Linked DNA regions of Homo sapiens: region 2 is linked to region 1. The links are contacts of gene promoters, found by promoter capture Hi-C in blood cells and fetal thymus (Javierre and others, 2016). All regions are on one chromosome and are shown on one strand. The core of a region is centred on a gene start or on the middle of the fragment in contact, and the rest is flanking DNA. Distances in the headings are between cores, read along the strand shown.

The links. The method cuts DNA at HindIII sites, captures the fragments that hold promoters and counts their contacts. A CHiCAGO score of 5 or more calls a contact.
Region 2: a fragment that was not itself captured here is called in contact with the fragment with the promoter of NFYC in region 1 in 5 of 17 cell types (megakaryocytes, fetal thymus, naive CD4 T cells and 2 more); the score reaches 8.6 in megakaryocytes.

Annotation. Positions count from the first base shown.
Region 1 is chr1:40,689,167-40,694,227 of GRCh38, reverse strand. It overlaps NFYC (nuclear transcription factor Y subunit gamma), which reads right to left and starts at 2,524. Exons shown (of 10, transcript NM_014223.5): 1 at 2,361-2,524. NFYC-AS1 (NFYC antisense RNA 1) reads left to right here and starts at 1,967. Exons shown (of 1, transcript NR_024567.1): 1 at 1,967-5,061. It also overlaps a transcript of RIMS3 not described here. RefSeq lists enhancers at 1,537-1,586, 1,607-1,776 and a silencer at 2,017-2,116. The HindIII fragment of the contact is 4,450 bases long and covers 153-4,602 here.
Region 2 is chr1:40,843,229-40,848,289 of GRCh38, reverse strand. It overlaps LOC105378676 (a long non-coding RNA gene), which reads left to right. Exons shown (of 3, transcript XR_947239.2): 3 at 110-193. Among named protein-coding and RNA genes, the nearest start is that of CITED4, 17 kb to the left of the region's middle. The HindIII fragment of the contact is 9,100 bases long and covers 1-5,061 here.

The DNA of each region.
Region 1 (5,061 bases), core at 1,275-3,774:
ATAGGTCCTGGTATTTGGGGACACCCTAAGGAACTGGTGATGCTTGAAAAACCTCTCCAGTGAGCTCTTTACACTAGGCACTTGGTAGTTCCTCGCCATTTGGCATAAATTACCTCCACATACAGAAAGACTATCTGCAATATTCTGAAGCTTGGTTTTAAGGAATGCAGATTCTTCAAGTTTCTGTACATATTTTTCCCCATTATCTACCTGGATTCAGGAAAAAATGCAGCAATTTACTTGGTAAATCTTCCCTTTCACAATAGAAGCCAAGGGATATGATTTGAATACCTAGCTGAAGAACCCATATTCTCTATGGTTACAATTCTGTGGTCTGAATCCTTAAGCAGCACAAGAAATTCTTAAGAATTATAGTCTTCCATTTTATACACTCTAAACACCCAGAAATCAAAGTAGATGATCCACTTGGAAATACAAAATTATCTGGAAGTTTCATTAGTCAGGTTTATGTTGATAGCTGATGTAGCAGATAAAATTACAGGCTTTGGCATCAGGCAACCAGGGTTTGAATTCTAGCTCAACCACTTACTGAGTGACACCAGACAAGCTACTTAAACTCTCTGATCCTCAGTTTCCTCATCTGCAATATGGGGACGATAATGCCTACCTATTGGAGTTAAAATATGCCCCAAAATAGCAATTCTCTTCCTCTGCTACTTATCAATTCCCTTCTCCAGAAAATGTAGTTGCATTCACATAAAACTAAATTTGAAAACCCTAGGAGTTTCTTGAAATTGGTATGAAAACAGAAGAGTACCATCTAAAGCTAAAAAGGACTACCTAACAAAAACAAGGAAAAACAAATTAGGAAAACACAGATGTTTAACATAAATGTGTTTCCATGGCCCTCACACACTGGGACGAGCAAATGTAAAGCAATACAAGTAACTACGATTCAGATTCAGTGGAAAAGAACATATTCCCAACAAGTTGACTGGAACGACTCTGGATTGGAATAAAAACTTTTTGAATATGAACCAGAAAGTGTTGACAAGTCCTGTTCCTTAAGAAGCTATGCATGGGCTTTTTTTTGGTTTGGAGCTGCTTATTTGAAAAAACAAACAAAAAATTCAAAGTACACATGGGAATGGGTATACTTTTTAGGCACATATACAAGGAAATAAACCAAGACCGAAAATTTCTGGCTAGCTCCCTTTCCCTTAAAGGGGAACCTAACAATATTTACTCAACAAATAACTACCAACTACCTAATATTTGCTAATGTGGCTTTGGAAACTCAGCCATGACCTGTATCCTTCCTAGAGCAGCAAATTTCATATACAACATCTCAAAACTACTTGTATGGTCCTGAGACTCAATAATGTATAACTGTTCTATTAATACACTTCCCAAGTCCGAAAATGTCCCCTAAAATGCTTCCTATATCAGATTTTGTCACTTTAAATCTGATACTACTTAATGCTGTGCTTCCTAGGCTCGGACAGAGCACACTTCTCAATAGCATTCCTCTCTCGGTTTACTTGCTCCTCACATCACATCCCAGGTCCGTTGACTCTGGACTCCAGGGCTCCACCAAAACCTCAGTGTTTGAATGCTTGCACTCTCCAGCAAAATCCCTGATCCGATTCTACCGTTCAGCTATGCCCCTAGCCCTGATGCCTTTCTTCCTACACCATACACTCACACCGTGGACTTCAGGGCCACTTCCAAACTGGGTCACATTAGCAACCCTGGATCTCGAAGACTCTCAGCCTGTCACTTGGGTTTCGGTGTTTCCAAGCCTGGAACCCTGAGGGCCTGCACACCCCAATCTTGGGCCATGCATGTACCAGGAAAAGCACCTCTGAAAGTGAGTGTCCCCCATTCCCAGGCCATGGCCTAAGCTACCCCCAAAGTACCTGCCAGGCCATCACCCTCTCTTCCCCCTTAAAGCCTCTAGGCTCGCCCTCTCGCCGCAACCCCACGCCTGCGCCGCAGGGGGTCATTGCCCCAGCCGCCCTAGCCCAAGACGCGCGCATCCCCGCAGCCTCAGATTCCTTCATCACCCCCTAGACCGGAGCTGGCGCGTCCAATAAGGTGCCAGGTCCGCGGCCTCCCCGCCACCGACCAATCACGAGCGAGCCCCCCCGCCGTCGCCTTCCGCCAATGGGAGAAAGCCCGCGGGCCGGGCCGACGAGGCACACGGACCCCACGAGCGCGGCGGCGGCGACAGCAGCGGGCCAGGCAAGAGCACAACATGGCGGCGGGCAGGACGGACCGAGCTACAGCAGCGGCCGCGCGAGGAAGTGAGGTCTCTGGCGAAGGCGGGAAGCGCTGCCCCTCCCCCCGCCGCCGCTTCCCTATCACCCTCGCACAGAAACTCCCGCACACTCACACACCTCTGCTCAGGAGTCCAGGAAGAGCAGGAGCCGCCCCCGCGCTCCTACGGAGTCGGGCAATGCAGAGGCCCAGGCGCGGCGGAGGGGAGGGGGAAGTGTGCGTCACGGAGAACGGAGCGCGCGCGAAGCGGGGGCACAAGCAAGATGGCGGCCACGCCGTTTGCACCGTTTCCCCTTTTCCCTTCCCCCTCCCTTGGCGCCTGGACTCCCAGTATCGTGCGGTGCGCAGAAGCTGTGCTCCTTGAGGTCTCGCGAGAATTGGGAAGGGGCGACGACAGAGGGAGGCGGAATGAGATCTGAGAGTTTTAACCCCGCCCCCTTTCGGGAGCTCGAGATCTGAGTTTTGACCCCGCCCCCTTTCGGGGGATCCGGAGGCGCTGCCCAGTGACCTCCACCACCCTGCCTATCCTTGTGGATCTCCTTGGTGCGAGCTTGAATTTTAGGAAATAAGTAGGTGTGTGCGCGTGCCCTTGAGTTTTAGGAACTAAGTAGGGGCGTGTGTGTGTATTTGTGTTTTTAATTTGGGGAGAAAGAACTGGGGGATGAAGGTCGACATGGCGTTCCAGATTAAGCATGCCGTTCAAGTAGACAGCTACTGGCACCTTAAATTCATAAAAGAGCATTTAGCACCAAACTGTAAAGTGATGTCCTCTAGAATAAAGAACAGTACTTACCAAGAATAGTTAGCTTGTAACCTTACGTCGACATAGTTGTTCTTATTTGAATGCAGATTTTAAAGTTTTATCACGCAGTTGGAAACCACAGCTACTATGAGCATGGATTTTTTCATACTTATCTCTTTCATTTCCGTGACCACTTGGTCCAAAGGCATCAGGATTGTATCCATTTTACAAATGATAAAACTGAAGCTCAAAAAGGTTAAGTAACTTGATCTAAGTCCCCACAGCTAGTAAGTGTCAAAACCCCATCCGAATAACTTCAAAACCTGTAGGTATAGTCATCAAATGTGTCTTGAATGGAATTACCTACAGTGAGAGTTAGTGCATTAGGTAACAAGCGCAGAGAGGAATGACTGCCTCTGCTGATGGTAACCTTGAATTTTACAAATGACACTGGAGCCTTTCTGAGACTAGTGTTGCATGGGTCCTCAATAAAATCACACTGTTGTTACTCACTTCCTTTGGGTTTATAACCCTGGTGATAAAGTAATTGAGAATAGTGGAGTAAACCCTCGACTTGAATTCAGGAAAATTGTTTTCAAATCCAGTTTCAATAAATCTCACATCAGGCACTCTATTTGATGAATGAATGAACAAAACCTAACTATAAGACACTTGACTTCAGGGAGTCTCAATTCCTTCATCTGTAAAAAGATCTAATTCCTAACTTTTGGTAATGTTGGGGAGAGTGAATGAAATAATGTGAGAGTGCTTCGTAAATTGCAAAAGTGTTATAAAGAAGTTACTGGTAAGAGCTACGAGTGTCTCGCTGCACTCTAGCATGGGCGACAGTGCGAGGCCCTGTCTCAGAAAAAAAAAAAGTTACTTATAATGACATTTTCAGACATGAGAAATGGCATAAAATTAAAAACAGATTCAAGAGAATAGTATGTTGAGATTGTAGAGACAGATGTAGCTAATGGAAAAAAGCTAAATAAGTCTCTCTACAGATGTTTATTGAGTACTTATTGCATATACTATGCTTGCCAAAAAATGTAAAAGTGTACATTTAGTTACAATGAAGCAGCACAAGTTATTATTAGTGATTATTGTTATAATTAAGTATTGATCACACTTAGGGGCTGCAGTCTATTTCCTTCCAAGAGCCTGGAAGTTGGGTTGCCCTCAGAAATAAATAAAAATCTACATAGAGGAAATTAGCTAAGAGTGATATTAAGTATATTTAACAACAAGTAGTGCTCAAGCATAGATGAAGCAGAATTAGAAATGCAGCTAGGATCCTGGAGGTATACGTCTGTGCTAGGTGTTAACCCTTCAGTTGCTGGTTTGTGAATAGGAGGTCCCAAGGGATCCCAGGGGAAGGGAGTGGTCAGGAGGTTTGGGACAGCAGCTATTTACCAGGTAGTACTAGAGTATTTCAGTATTTTAATAGTCAATGTTATAACTGATAACAGTCAATTGATACATATAAGCCTAATATTAGTCCTTGCTATAGTCTTTATTATCAATAGCCTCCGCCCTTCCCTTTCTAAAGCCGTTGCTATCTGGCCTGTCCCTAGGAGATTAGGGTGAAAGACTTCTCACCCTAATGTCGTCAAGCTTGGCCTTGTTTTGACCAATGAAATATGAGTAGAAATGGCATGAACCGGCCGGGCACGGTGGCTCACACCTGTAATCCCAGCACTTTGGGAGGCCGAGGTGGGTGGATGACGAGGTCAGGAGTTCAAGACCAGCCTGGCCAAGATGGTGAAGCCCTGTCTCTACTAAAAATAAAAAAATTAGCCAGGTGTGGTGGCAGGCACCTGCAATCCCAGCTACTCGGGAGGCTGAGGCAGGAGAATTGCTTTAACCAGGGAGTTGGAGGTTGCAGTGAGCAAATATCACGCCACTGCACTCCAGCCTGGGCGACAGAGTGAGACTCTGTCTCAAAAAAAGAAAGAAAGAAATGGCATGAACCACTTCTGAGCAGAAATTTATGAGCTATCTTACAATTTTGCCATATTATCTTTCCTCTGACACAAGAGCAGCATGTCCTAAATAGAGCTCCCTCTTCAGCTTTG
Region 2 (5,061 bases), core at 1,496-3,995, 150 kb before region 1:
TAAGGGCAGACCCCATCCGAGTTCTGGGCAGGCGGGGCAGCTTGGGTCTCAGGCCTCAGATCCTTCTGCCAGGGTATCTGTTTGACAGCAGTCTTCCCACCTCTTCCAGGAAATCCTTCACATCTCCCACTCATTTTAGAGCCTGTTTGGGAAAAAAAGAAAGAGAAGAGGATATGCCTCATGCCCAGAGAAGCCATTTGGGACAAAAACAAAGATGTTGAAGGAGGATTTTTAAAATCCTCTGTGATGTATAATGTAAGTCTTCTATGACATTGCTTCCAGTAAAATCCACCTTACTAGCTGTCTTAACCAGGTCTTGCCGTGATAATGCCATGAAGAAAACAAACCCCCAATCTCAGTGTCCTACAAAATCAATGATTATTTCACACTCCTAAGTCTCCAAGTCAACTGCAGTTCAGCTGATGCTGGCTGGGCCAGGCTGGACTCTTGAATTCAGTCTAGGTCAGGTCTGCTCCACATGCCTGCATCCGGACCCAGGATGAAGAAACAACGGCTATCCGAGGCTCTCGAGGTGGAAGAACTTTGCCATGACTGTATGGCTTCCGCTTGAAAAAAAGCATACTGTCCTTCCTACCTGCCTTCGATTGGCCAAAATAAATCCCATGGCCAAGCCCAAAGTCAGGGGGTTGGTAGAGTGGATGCTATGGGGTTCCACCCAGATCCACCCTTCAGAGCCTGCTGGGAATCTTCTGCTGGCTCACAACTGTGTCACTCATTGGGAATTGCCCTTGGCCACAGGGAACTGCCTCACCCACAGTCATGGCCATGATTGGCTAATGATTGGCTGATGGTTTCCTTTGAAGGAAAACAAAGGCCTGCCTTCTTCCTTCAGTTTAGCACAACTCTTCGGGGATAGATGAGCTCTAGGGCTCCTGAGGATCAGCAGCTACCTCAGTTGCTATCGCATAGTAGATCAACCTCTCCTTCTGTCTAATCCTACCTCCTACCTTCCTTATAGATGAATCTCCTGAGCACACTCCCCTAAAAACCTTCTGCACACCACTCTCTGTCTCGGAATTGGTTTCCAGGAAACCTGCTGTAAGACAGATAGGCAAGTACACACCATGCAAGGGTAACCATGGCAATGGCAAGGAAGGAAGGAAGACTTTCAGACAAAGAATACAATCGACTACAATAGTTACATAAAGGATACATCACAGAGACAGATCTATTTTGCCTGCAGCAAAATGCTAGGCACATGCTCAATGTGTATGTAAGGGGAGAATTGAGGCCACCTCTGGGAGGTTCCCATTTTTTATTGCACTGATTATATTTTGTATATTAGGATTCCAAATAGGTTATGCTGTAGCAAAGGTTCCTGGGCCTTCAAAAAAGGGTTTTCAAATCACTTGGTTCCATGATGTCTATAGCTCTGTTCAGCTCTGCCAGTTGGGATGGGGCAAACCCGAGTGATTCTCAGATCCTGTGCATTTACAGCAGAAAATGCGTCAGGTTGGTGGGTGAAATCCCTGTTGCAGGTGTCATTGGCTGAATTGCATCCCTCCAAAATTCATATGCTGAAGTTCTAACCCTCAGTTCCTCAAAATGTGACTGCATTTGGAGATAGGGCCTTTAAAGAGGTAATCAAGTTAAAATGGGTTTTTTAGGGTGAGCTCTAATCCAATATTACTGGTATCCTTATAAGAAGAGGCGATAAATACATCAACAAGCAAAAACCAACCCCATTAAAAAGTGAGCAAAGGATAGGAACAGACAATTCTCAAAAGAAGATATACAAGTGGCCAAAAAACATGAAAAAATGTTCAGCATCAATCATCACTAATCATCAGAGAAATGCAAACGTAAACTACAATGAGATATCATCTCACACTAGTCAGAATGGCTATTATTAAAAAGTCAAAAAATAACAGATGTTGGCGGGGTTACAGAGGAAAGGGAATGATTATACATTCTTGGTGAGAATGTAAATTAGTTAAGCAATTTGGAGAGTTCTCAGAGAACTAAATATAAAACTACCATTCCACTCAGCAATCTCATGACTAGATATATACCCAAAGGAAAATAAATCATTCTACCAAAAAAACACATGCAACTGTATGTTCATTGTAGCACTCTTCACAATAGCAAAGACATGGAATCAACCTAGGTATCCATCAATGGTGGACTGGATAAAGAAAATGTGGTGCGTATATACCATGGAATACTATGCAGCCATAAAAAGAAGGAAATCATGTCCTTTGCAGCAACTTGAGCAGCTGGAGGTTATTATCCTAAGCAAACTAATGCAGAAACAGAAAGCCAAATACTGCATGTTCTCACTTATAAATGGGAACTAAACATTAGTTACACATGGACATAAAGATGGCAACAATTGACACTGCAGACCACAAGAAGGGAGAGGGAGGGAGGGGATCAAGGGTTGAAAAATGACCTGTTGGGTACTGTGCTCCCTACCTGGGTGATAGGTTCTGTCGTATCCCAAACCTCAGCATCATGCACATCATGCAATATACCTTAGTAACAAACCAGCACATGTGTCCCCAAACCTAAAATAAAACTTGAAAAAAGAAAAGAAAAAGAAAACTAGGAACACAAAGAAGAAGAGGAGGAGGAGGAGGAGGAAGAGGAAGAGGAGATTATTAGGACACAGAGAGAGACCTCAGACCTGTGTACATAGAGAACAAGAGATAATCATGCAAAGATACCAGAAGAAGGCAGCCTCTACAATCATAGGAGAGAGGCCTCAGAATGAAACCAACCCTGCTGATAACTTGGTCTTGAATTTCCAGCCTCCAGAACTTTGACTGTGTGATCATGCACTTCTGTTGTTTAGACCTTCCAGTCCATGATATTTGCTATGCCATCCCACACAGACCAACACACCGTGGTAGCAGCTATCACGGTCCTGCTATACACAGAGGTGGGTGGTAGGGGAAGATGTGCCTCTCAGCTTCTCAGAGGGAAAACGAAACTGTTTTAACAATTGGAGCTGTCAAAAGTACGTGAAATATGGCCCAGTGCAGTGGCCACTGCACTCTGCACTCTCAAAAAAACAAAAGTACATGAAATAAATTATCTAAATAGAGAAATAACTGCATGGGTTTTTTTAGATCTACAAGAGTGTAAACATCGCAACGTATTCAGAGCACCCATCAAAGTGAGCTGAGCCCCTTGGTACAGCTTCTGAGCCTGGGCCTCCAGAGGCCTGATGGCTTCTGCTTTTGCCCTCTTGCCATATGAAGAAGTACAGTCTAATCTACTGGAGGATGAGAAGCTCCATAGAACAGAGATGAGCCGTCTTGCCTGCAGACCAACTCACACCAGATTGCAGACACGTGGGGAAGGCCCTCTTGGGCCATCTAGACCCTGTTGATGCCAGATGATTGCAAGCACATTAGTGACCCCAGGTGAGACCAGCAGAGCTGTTCAGCTGAGTTCACCCCAAATTGCTGACCCACAGAATCAAGAGTAAATAAAATAAAATAGTTGTTATTTTAAGCCATTAAGGTTTTTTGTTGGTGGTTTTTTGTTTGTTTGTTTGTTTGTTTTGGAGACAGAATCTTGCTCTGTTGCCCAGGCTGGAGTGCAGTGGCATGATCTTGGCTCACTGCAACCTCCACCTCCCGGGTACAAGCAATTCTCTGCCTCAGCCTCCTGAGTGACTGGGACTACAGGCGCACGCCACCATACCAGGCTAATTTTTGTAATTTTTAGGAGATGGGGGTCTCATCATGTTGGCCAGGCTGGTCTTGAACTCCTGGCCTCAAGTGATCCACCCACCTCGGCCTCCCAAAGTGCTGGGATTACAGGCATGAGCCACCACATCTGTCCTAAACCATTAAGTTTTAAAATAAGTTGTTACAAAGCAATAGATAAATGACACACCAAGCTAAAATTGTATCTGCTGTCAAGGCCGTATTTGATGACAGTTTGGGGACTCCCAGAGCCACCTGCAAACTCTCCTTGCTGAGCCAGGCAAATTTAGAAGATAAACAGTAGCTGTGCATTGGTTAATTGTGCATCTGTCTCCCCCAGGGGCTGGATGACCTCAGGGCTGTAACTTGTTCTCCCGTGTCTGTTCATCCTGTATATTGTGCTGAGGCAGGGTCTGGCATATAGCGGGTGCTCAATAGACATTTAACTCAATTAGTGAAATGTCATGGGACTTGTTCGGGTTACCAGCACCTCCTGCTCGGGTGACTGCAGCAGTCTCCTACCTGCTCTCCCCACACCCACACTTACTCCCTCAAATACATCTTCCATCCCAGGAAAAAAAAAAAATTCTAAAATGCAAATCTACCCCAGTGTGCTGCCTGAGAAAAATCTTTTATTGTCTCCCCACTGCTATCATGGCTAAGTCCTATCTCTTTGGAATGATTAATGAAATCCTGTAAACTTTGACCCCTAATTCTAAAGTCCCATCTTGCACCCCTCTCTCCGTTGCTGTCTGGGACCAGCCACGGGATTTCTTTCTGTTCCTTTCATCTACCACACTCACTGGTGCCTCTGGACCCTATCACATACTGTGCCTTTTCCTGGAACATCACCACCACTGCCACCACCCCAGTTCCCAGGCCTGGCTCCATCCTACCTGTCCTTCAGTACATTTGGTTGTCCATTTTGTCTGATTGAGAGATGACAAGAAGTATGGATCTACACTGATTTATGGGCAGTGGCTAATGGTTTGGCTGGATGGTCAGGGGTTCAGAAAGCACAGAACTGGAGGACTGGCCATAAGAAAAACTGGGAGAGACTAGTAGATGGACTTTCAGAAATGACACAGAATATGAAGATATTTGTATTCCAAGTAAAATCTCACCCAAAGTCATCCATGGCAGAGGCAGCTCTTGATAATTCGATGGACAAGATGGCACATTGGATGGATGTCAGCCAGCCTCTCTCCCTAGTCTCTCCAGCGCATTCTCCATATGTTTATGTACAATGTGGTCATGGTGGCCAGAATGGAGACTATTTACAGGTTCAACAACATGAACGTAACTCGTCAAGGCTGATCTGACTAATGCCACACTGTATGTCCAACCTGCCTCCAGCCAAGACAAATGCTAAGTACTTAGTATA